Linked DNA regions of Homo sapiens: all the other regions are linked to region 2. The links are contacts of gene promoters, found by promoter capture Hi-C in blood cells and fetal thymus (Javierre and others, 2016). All regions are on one chromosome and are shown on one strand. Each heading gives the region's core, a stretch centred on a gene start or on the middle of the fragment in contact. The rest is flanking DNA. Distances are from core to core; before and after follow the strand shown.

Region 1 (3,372 bases), core at 160-2,659, 120 kb before region 2:
ATCTTGGCTCAGCTACTTACTGGTTAGGTAGCCCCAGTCAAATAACCTAAGCTCTCTTCTGCAGCTCAGTTTTGTCACCTGAAAATGGTACATTTCACAGGATTGTCCTAAGAATCCTGAGAGTCAATGCAAATACCACCCCAACCCGATTCCCAGCAGGAAATATGCAACGGGTCAGTGCTGTTTTGGATTCATCCCTCTCCCCGTATGCCTTCTGCAGACATCCTCTCTTCCTCCTCCCATCTTGCGCTATACCCCACTTCTAAGGCGGCTCTTTTCCATAACACTAGATTCATCACTCGTGTCCATGTCCCCCAGAACGTCGCACATGCCCAGGAGAGTGCTGTGCCTTAAGCATCTCTGTACCTGGCACCCCCATCAGAGTAGTCCTGGACAGAGCGACTATTCAACATTTGTTGCCTAATCGCATTCTCTGTCATCCTTGCTAATGAAGGGGAGGAACGAGGGTGGAGAAATGAGAACGCATGATCAGGAAGTGATTCAACACCCATTTTTTGGTCTAATGCCTAATTTTTACAGTAATTTTTAGCTTCCAAATTAAGTATTATACAGACTCATACTCAAATGCCTTCTGTCCTTTCACAAACATGGGGTGAGTAATTGTTTAAAATAATTGAGATTTTCATGGGTGTGGAAAAGGGCCAACGCAGAATTTTCGAAGCTTCACAGATAATCTACTGAAGTCTACTGATAGAATCACAGACTCACTTAGAGTCAAAGGGGACTTTAGGAGACCATTTAATCTAAAAACCTCACTTAACAGAAGAAAAGGCTGACACCAAAGAGATTCAGTGGCTTTCCCAAAGCCCCAGAGCAAGCTGGTCTGTCCCAAGTTGACTGTGCTACCCTCTACCCCTACTTGACAACTCAGAATCTTGTAAGAAATTCTGCGGGCTACAGAGTAAAGGCCAGGTTTAAGTTACCACCTCCCCCATTATCAGGGAAGGAATCCCAAAGCTGAAGTCCGAGATGAATCAGTGTCAGCAATAACTGAATGCAATCGATCCCATAGCATTCCCCGATATTCTGATAGAAACTACTCCAAGAAAACCCAGCACTAGAAAATTTGTGGCCACTAATGAACAGGGCTAATAATCCTGTTAAATACTTGCTTCACAAAGATAAATCAAACCTCACAAACTTAAACCCATTAATATCCCATGACTTCCTTAGAAGTAGGTAGAGAAACAAGCAATTTTGTAAGTCACACTAGAATCCCCTCCCAGCAGCACAGCTAAAGTTGGGGATTTCAAAACAAAACATACAGATGTTATACTTTTGGTCTAAGTCTCTGAATAAAAGGTACGCCTCCCTCTGCTGTAAATTACACTTTAAAATAGGAACAGTTTAAAAGCAGTTTGTATCCTGATTGGTATCTGAGAACAGAAGAAGGACATTGGTGGGGAAACTGGTGACATCCAAATAAAGTCTGGAGTTTAGGGAATAGTAACAAACAAATGTTAATTCTTAGCTTTGACAAATGTGTCATGATTATTTATGTAAGATGTTCACATTGGGGGAAACTGGATGAAGGGCACTATTCAGAAATTCCCTGTATTATTTTTGCAACATTTCTTAAAATCTAAAATACTTCCAAATAAAGAGCTTATTAAAAGTTAATGATTATAACATGCCCAGGCACGGTGGCTCATGCCTGAAATCCCAGCACTTTGGGAGGCTGAGGTGGGCAGATCACTTGAGGTCAAGAGTTTGAGACCAGCCTGGTCAATATGGTGAAACCCTGTTTCTACTAAAAATACAAAAATTAGCCAGGTGTGGTGATGCACTCCTGTAGTCCCAGCTGCTCGGAAGGCTGAGGTGGAAGAATCAGTCAAACCCAGGAGGCAGAGGTTGCAGTGAGACAAAATCACACCACTGTACTCCAGCCTGGGCAACAGAGTCAGACTCCATCTCAAAAAAAAAACAAAAAACAAAAAACAAAAAAAAAAAACAGTATTAACAGTATCACTTACTCAGTATATCCAATCAGAGAATAATTCCCCTCTAAATCTAATTTTCAAAGGTTTACTACACTAATGTGAAATTCCTAGTCCACTTTGGAATATCACAGAATGTACGTTGTAGGGCTTCTAATTAAACATGGCCAATGGAACACAAGCTTCCAAATTCTCACTGGAGTAAAGGTACAGGGATATGAAGGATCCAAAGGCCAAAGTCAGAAGGAAAGGAAGAGGACATGGCAGCCACATTTTGGAAGCTTGAAGAGAGAAGCAGGTAATCGCTGATGGATGCTCAAGAAGGCTGCCACCTGGGGCTGAAGGAAGAGACTAGAAGGAAGGTGCTTCATCCCACAAAGCCCCAGAATAGCCAGGGAGCCTTTGACAATGAGTGTGCAGATGGGCCTAAAAGAGACCTGATGGAAGCCTGGGTAAGAAGCAAGTAAACTCCAGATTCCTCCTGTACCCCAGGCAGCCAGGCAACTGTCCCACCAGACATTGCAGGACCCCCAGCCCAGCTAAGGGTGGGGATACCAGGCTGAAAACAGGAGAAAAAGTGATAGTTTATGTGCTGGAATGGGGGCACCCAGCATCTTCCCACATCTTCACCCTGATTTCACAATGAAAATCCAATGCGAGTAAAGAATCCTATGTACAAAAACTCAATTTTCAGAAATGTTTCTGCATGATAACCTTAACACCCACCTGGACTGTGCATTTGTGGAAGGCTTGTAAATCACAGCCTTAACAGCAGAAGGCTGAAAGGGACTGGAGAAAACATTTAAAATCACCAGATATTTACAAGCTCTTCTTCATAGTCCCTGAGAACAAAATCCCTGTTTCCCTCCTGTAGTTCTCAAAACCTAGAAAGGCTCATAATCCGATCTCTTTTCTCAAAATATCATGCAAAATGCCCCAGGGATCTGTACTTTATAATGCTATTAATTTCCCTCTGGTGTCAGAGGTACCAGCATAGAATGATTTAAAAAAAAAATCAACTTAACACCTACCCCACATTAGGCAAACCTTTCCATTTCTGTGTAAGTGTTCATTTTGAAGGAATTTCAGCTCTGGCAATAGAAATGAATTTGTGAAGAGTTAAGGGATACATCAGAATATTCTGGCACGATGGGTACAGTTGAGCATTTCCTTTATTATAGTAGTGACAGTTTCAATACCAAAACAAAATCCAAGCCACAAAACAAAATTTTTCTCGTAACAAATAGGGGAAAGAAAATTATTGCACATAGCTCACTTACAATGCACTGAATGTGTCAACTCTTCACACCTCTAAAAAGGTACACAGAGGTAGGACAGGAAGACACAGTTCAAAAGAACAGCACCCAACTCAGTGCCTACTATGGAGCAGATCCTCCCTCATGTTTATTGAACC
Region 2 (3,375 bases), core at 6-2,505:
GGCAATTGCAGCTCAATTTCCATCTCACCCTGAGCTCCAGGATGCCAAGATTTAAGCCCTATCATGACCAACGTCTCAGAGAGAGATGGAAACTCCTGATCCCCATCTCACAGTGGGTACCCCAAGATACAGCTTGGCCCAGATAGAAGAGAGAGCTGGCTGCTGCTGTACCTGGTGGTTGCTTTTCCATGTCACTCATCTATCTCTAAGGCTCACCCCACCTGCCACACAGCTTCTGGACTTTTACTTTTCCCTGGTGAATTGGAAATCAGATAATAGGATGGACAAATCAAGGCAGCTCAGCTCACAGAGAAAGCTAGTTGGGGTTTGCTTTCTGTTTTCACATCCTCTAAAACTGTACTGAGGATGGTGTGTGTGTGTGTGTGTGTGTGTGTGTGTGTGTATACCTATGTACTTGGAGGAGGGTGAGGAAGGGGAGGCTGCAGGATTGATTATGACTTATTAAACTATTGGAAAAGAGGCTGAATCATCACAGTCAAAAATAAACAGCTGCAACTCCATGCGACTCCCACTTCTTGCCTGCTCCCCTTTGCTCCCTCACAGCATGTAGGAGAGACTGTGCTGGGTCAGACCAGCAGGTGCTGACTGACGTGGCTACAGCAAGGGGACCACCTGTATGGCCGCTGCACCTCCAAGCTGTGGGACGCAGGGACAGCTGGGACCAGTCGACGTCCACTGGCCCTCTGATGGCTCCTAGGACTGAATCTTGGACTCCAGGTGCGGGTTTACACTCCCTGCGCTCATTGGGAACTGCATGGAGAAGCGCTATCCCCTGAGCCCTTTTTCTCCCTACTCTTAGCCTGGCCCTGCGCCCTGCGCCCGGGGCTGGCCCACGGTAAACACAGCTTTGCTAACTTGTTTGGCTAAGGAAATCACAGAGGTCCCGGTATAAGTCTGGGTCACCCCGGCCGCCACTCCAGCTGCCTAGAATATATGGGTGGAAGGGAATCGACTCTGTGAAATCAGAGGGAAAATAGCGCTTGTCCTTGCCATGAGTCTTGAGGAGACCGAAAACGCTTAACCTTTTACGCCCCCGCAGGCGGGTCCCCTCTCTCCCCGCTCCCCGGCTGTCTGTAAGCTCTGCCTGCGGCCACCCGCAGGCGTTTCAGCCGGTCTCACCCCTGTCCTTCTGCAGGACCCGGGAGGAGGGGTTGGGGGGGCGGAGCGAAGCCGCTGTGACGTAGCGGGAGGGGGGCGTGGGGAAATGTGCCGAGGGGCCCGGGCTGGCTGGGCCAGTCCCAGCGGCGCAGCCACCCATGCGCGCGCGCTCGCAAGACCACCAGCGCCCAGAGCCCCAGTCTGAGGCTTGGCGCCGGGGGTCTGCGGGCGAGGGGAGCTCTCTACGTGCGAGGGGCTAGCGGGAGCCGGCACAAGAGGGTCGAGGAGCCAGGAACCCCAAACGTCCGGCGCCAGGCGCTAGCCAAGCTGCTGCGCGCCCCGGCGCCCAGCTGGCTCGGGGACAGCCGCTGGGTGTCGGAGACCGGAGCTAGCGGATTGCAGCGGAAAAGCAAAGGTGAGGGGTGTGTGTGTGTGTGTGTGTGTGTGTGTGTGTGTGTGTGTGATAAGAGAGATGGAGGGAGCGAGAAGCGCACTTGGGCACCTGTGTGCATCTGCGCTGATGGTGGTGTGCCCATCCGAGTGCCTGAGCTTAGGTCCCGGTGCGTGATTCTCCGCTCTTGTGCCTTTTGGGGTGATTGTAGTAGGAATGAACGACAACGGGTACCCTTGCCTGAGTAAGGGGGCTGTGGGTAGAGTGTGCTGGAACGGACGTGTCCTCGCAGCCTCATGCCCGTGTGCGTGGCGTGTGCCCTTTAGCCCGAGATTTCAGGTAGCTGCGACGGGTGACAACTTCTCTCCCAGCCCCCTACAAAAGAGACCTGGCGCGAGGGGAGCGAGGCCGTGAGATGCCAGCTGGGGCTCCTGCGGGAGCGCACCCGGAGATCCGAGCCTGCCAGAGGCAGGCGGCGGGCGCAGAGCGGAGAAAGAGGGGCTTCTCTCCCTAGACGCTGAACGATCTAGGATCCGTCCCCGTCCCCCACCTCGGGACAGAAAGGACAGTTTGTCTAGGTTTGGAGAGAAAAAACCACTGCATAGGCCGTGCCCAAAAGCCGCTGGCCAAGTCCCCCAAGCGACTGTCTTCTGCGCCCCGATGTCTCTGTCCTCAGCGCCCCCCCCCCACACCCGGCACCCCTGCTGTGCGTTTCGATACTGGGCGTGCTGGCGCCACAATCTCCGCTCTTGCCTCGTCTTCCTGGAAATGGCACAGAGTTCTTTGGGAAACCCTTGCTCTGAGGATCAGCGAGTTGGATGGCCAGGAGGAGGACTTTCTGTGCCAGCCGGGAGCAACCGGCTCCGCGGTCCTGACACTCGCCCCTCCATTTCTCAACCCCGTAGGCCAGCACCGCCCCGGCTTTTCCCAGGCGCTCACGCGCCGCGGTGGCCCTCAGGGGCTTTTGTCACCCTGCCAGTGGGGGCTCTCGCTCTAGCCGCACAGAGACCAAGCCGGGTTCTGCAGGCCCTGAGGGAGGCGGGGGGTGGGAAGTGAATGCGGGAAACATGATGGGGAGAGGAGAAACTGAAGCTGAGTAGGATTTAGGACCTCCCCTGATGTCGGGTCGCCATCCCAACACTCATTTCTTGGGCTGGTAATCACAGCCCCTATGTAAAAGGGGGGCGGGGGGGGCAGGTGCGTGAGACCATTCTCACCCTCCTCTCTACAGAGCCTGGACATGGTTCAGAGGAAACCAACCACTAGCCATTTCCAGCATCTAACAATTCTTGGGCTGGAAAAACAAAGAATGCAGAAAACGAAACTTCCTTGTACATTTAATTTAACCACAATTCATCTAGAATTGTCTGCCTGGCATTGGAATATTCTTTCTCTGAAACAAAAATGAAACAGAAGTCTCTGGAAGACCTTAAGCGGCTGACTTCTTTGTTAAATAAGACTCCCCATGATTTAAGCTCATTTCTTGCTTAGAGGAGCCTTCCCACTCTCAGCCGGCTCCCCAGCCTCCCACCTCCACCACCTTCACCAAGACTCTGAACCCTGTCTGTTGCTACCATTAAGCAATTCTGTCCTGTTGACTCAAACTCCAGTTAAAATGACCGAGTTAGGGCTGGAAAGCAACACTCAACCCTCTCTCATACTCCCTGCACCATCATCGTTCCTAGCCCAAAAGCTCTTAGACAGGGGCTCTGCCAACCCAGGGGGATTCCGTGTTACTCAGACATTGGAGTGTGACCATTCATGTTATATAGATGGGCCCCTGGAAATCCCCATGATAAGGTACACTCTGATTGCAGGCAGCTTGAATAGGATTCTGGCTCTGTAGAATTAAACCAACTGACCAG
Region 3 (3,407 bases), core at 240-2,739, 100 kb before region 2:
TGTATTCCACAGAAACAACTAAATTTCCTTGTCAATTGTGTCATTATTGAATGAAATTTCAACAGCTCTTTAACCATGGACATTTTAAGTCCTGTCACTCACAGACGGTTGTTTGCTCGGTACTTTCCTAAGCAACTATAAGCCTATATAGTTTTGTCTTCAAGGAGGCTCACGGAAAAGATTCTGACAAGTACAGGTTTGTGATTACTTTAAGATCGTATCATTAAACTGGGTAAGAATTCTCAGAACTCACCGAGCGTGGTGGCTCATGCCTGTAATCCCAGCACTTTGGGAGGCCAAGGCAGGCAGATCCCAAGGTCAGGAGTTCGAGACCAACCTGGCCAACATGGTGAAACCCCGTCTCTACTGAAAATACAAAAATTAGCCGGGAGTGGTAGCAGGTACCTGTAGTCCCAGCTACTCAGGAGACTGAGGCCAGAGAACCGTTTCAACCCAGAAGGCAGAGGTTGCAGTGAGCTGAGATTGCACCACTGCACTCCAGCTTGGGCAACAGGGCAAGACTCTGTCTCAAGGAAAAAAAAATTCTCAGAACTCGTATGAAGAAACTCACTGGTTCATAAAACTGTTAACCCACCATCAAAAGAACAAGAATTACTTAAATGCTAAGTCAGATTTTCATGCTAAGTCAGTTGATTGTGAAATTGTTAAGATATAGAAGCTGAATGAACTCCCTAAGATTTATCCAAGTCAAATCACCTATGATGACCTATTCATTGGACAGGGTTATGCATCTTAATTGGAGAAATAAAACTTGTACTTGAAAGGATGTAAATTCAACATTAAGCGTAGACTCATAGAGGGCTTAGACAACTACTTGGTCTTTTCTGAGTCCTTAAAGCTTCCATTATTAAAAGTTCTGTGCAGGCTGGGCAAGTGGCTCATGCCTACAATCTCAGCACTTTGGGAGGCCAAGGCGAGTGAATTGCTTCTGCTCAGGAGTTCAAGACTAGCCTAGGCAACATGGTGAAACCCCATCTCTACAAAAAAACACGAAAATTAGCCGGGTGTAGTGGCCCAAGCCTGTGGTCCCAGCTACTCAGGGGGCTAAGGTGGGAGGATCACTTGAGACCAAGAGGTCAATGCTGCAGTGACCTCGTGTGATCACGTCACTGCACTCCAGCCTGGGTGACAGACTGAAACCCTGCCTCAAAACAAAACAAAAAAAATCCTCTGTTCCATGACTCTTCATACCACAGACAAAATGAAACAAATTATGGAAAAATAATGGTGTGGCGACTGTTCTAGAATTACTAGGATGGTTTGTAACCAGTGAGTGCTTAGTTTGTCAAACTCATAATCCTGGAAAGACAATCAAAACTTCAGATGAGGCCGGGCGCAGTAGTTCATACCTGTAATCCCAGCACTTTGGGAGGCTTAGGCAGGCAGATCACATGAGCTCACAAGTTCGAGACCACCCTGGGCAACATAGCAAAACCCCATCTCTATAAAAAAAAATACAAAAATTGGGTGTAGTGATGCATGCCTGTAGTCCCAGCTACTTGGGAGGCAGAGGTAGGAGGATGGCTTCCACTTGGGAGGCAGAGGAGGTTACAGTGAGCTAAGATTGCACCACTGCACTCTAGCCTGGGTGATAGTGCCAGAGCTTGTCTCAAAAAAAAAAAAAAAAACTTTAGGTGATACACTTCTGCTACCTGATAGGCCATTTGAACATCTACAGAGGGATTTCATTAAATTGCCACCTTCAATAGGATATCAGTATGTCTTGCAACAGTTTGCATGTTTCCTGGTTGGATAGAAACTTTCCATGTAGAAAAGCTAATGCTATGACAGTAGCAAGGAAGTTATTACAAAATTTATTTCCTTTATGGCAGTGGTCTCCAACCTTTTTGGCACCAGGGACTGGTTTCGTGGAAGACAGTTTTTCCACGGATTGGGGGTGGGGGATGGTTTTGGGATGACACTGTTCCACCTCAAATCATCAGGCGTTAGAGTCTCATAAGGAGACCGTAACCTAGATCCCTTGCACGTGCAGTTCACCATAGGAGTTGTGCTCCTGTGAGAATCTAATTCTGCTGCTGATCTGACAGGAGGAGTTCAGGAGGTAATGAGAGCAATGGAGAGTGGCTGCAAATACAGATGAAGCTTTGCTCACTCACCCGCCACTCACCTCCTGCTGTGTGGCCCAGTTCCTAACAGGCCACAGACCAGTAAGTCTTGGGGGCCTGCTGGGGGTTGGGGGCCCCTGCTTGAGGAGACATCCCTGTCAAAATCTCTAGTGACACAGGAATCCATTTGGACAAATTATAAAAGAGTTAAAATGTTAGAAGCACAAGGTACTAGCATTGTCTCTATCACCCTCAGTCTTTTGGAAAGATAAAAATGACAAAAGGCATTTTTAAAAATGAATTTGACGAAGGTAACTGAATCAATTGGATTGACTTGGCCAAAGGTACTACCGTTAGCACTAATGGCAATCAGATCCATTCTCACTGGGATATACAGATTGACCCCTTATGAAATAATTACTGGAAGGCCTACGCTGCTAATAGAACCTCATGTATCTTTCACTCTTATAAACTCTAATATAATTAAATGCTGCAAGACTTTAACGAATTGTGTCAAAATGTATTTTCAGAGGGTAAAAGAAGCTTTTCAAGGCCAGGTGCAGTGGCGCGTGCCTGTAATCCCAGCTACTCTAAAGGCTGAGGCAGGAGAATCACTTGAACCCGGGAGGCAGAGGTTGCAATGAGCCGAGATCGTGTCACTGCACTCCAGCCTGGGTAACAGAGCAAGGCTCATCTCAAAAAAAAAATTAAAATTAAAATTAAAAATAAAACCTATGGCCACAAGATTATTGCAAGGGTCAGATGAGGTAACGGATGAGAAAGTGCTTCAAAAAGTATAAAGCAATAAACCAATGTCACATAATAATATTTGGGGCTCCTGAGCCCATAAGATGCAAGTGTTCGCTGCCATCAGCCCATGGATACTCTCCCCCACACAGAAATCTTCATGCATAATTACAAAGTGTTCAGCAAATTCACGTCTGTAATCTGTTTAAAGTTTATGCACAGGCAATGACCGTGTGTCCCTTCCTCCATCTTAAATACAATACTAATCTGGTTTCCCCTTGTTTATGCATTTAACAGGTATCTAATTTTTCCACACTCCTGGAGAACTAACTCATTTAGCTCCAGGGCTGTCTTGGTTGATTTCTCTACAAGAAGACCAGCGCCTCAGAAATTGACAGAGGTTTCCAAAGAAATGCTACAGCAAAAAAAAAAGGAAATAAAAAAAAGAAAGAAAACCTACGCACTGGTCGGTGTGAAGCCTCCCCTTCATCTGTGTGTCAGACACACAATTCTCACCATCGGGCCTGATGGTTCCATTTGGTTTGCTGTTCAGTGAGTCTGCAGAAACCAAGC

What was found. Contacts are between HindIII fragments. The CHiCAGO score rates a contact against its expected background, and 5 or more counts as called.
Region 1: a fragment that was not itself captured here is called in contact with the fragment with the promoter of SSTR2 in region 2 in 4 of 17 cell types (M1 macrophages, M0 macrophages, M2 macrophages and 1 more); the score reaches 7.7 in M1 macrophages.
Region 3: a fragment that was not itself captured here is called in contact with the fragment with the promoter of SSTR2 in region 2 in 4 of 17 cell types (M0 macrophages, M1 macrophages, monocytes and 1 more); the score reaches 7.3 in M0 macrophages.

The regions. Positions count from the first base shown.
Region 1 is chr17:73,039,050-73,042,421 of GRCh38, forward strand. All of the region lies in intron 3 of SLC39A11 (solute carrier family 39 member 11), which reads right to left. Among named protein-coding and RNA genes, the nearest start is that of SLC39A11, 52 kb to the right of the region's middle. The HindIII fragment of the contact is 1,458 bases long and covers 681-2,138 here.
Region 2 is chr17:73,163,755-73,167,129 of GRCh38, forward strand. It overlaps SSTR2 (somatostatin receptor 2), which reads left to right and starts at 1,256. Exons shown (of 2, transcript NM_001050.3): 1 at 1,256-1,534. RefSeq lists an enhancer at 381-630 and a silencer at 1,171-1,510. The HindIII fragment of the contact is 15,303 bases long and covers 1-3,375 here.
Region 3 is chr17:73,060,830-73,064,236 of GRCh38, forward strand. The region is part of intron 3 of SLC39A11 (solute carrier family 39 member 11); the gene reads right to left. Among named protein-coding and RNA genes, the nearest start is that of SLC39A11, 30 kb to the right of the region's middle. The HindIII fragment of the contact is 1,265 bases long and covers 858-2,122 here.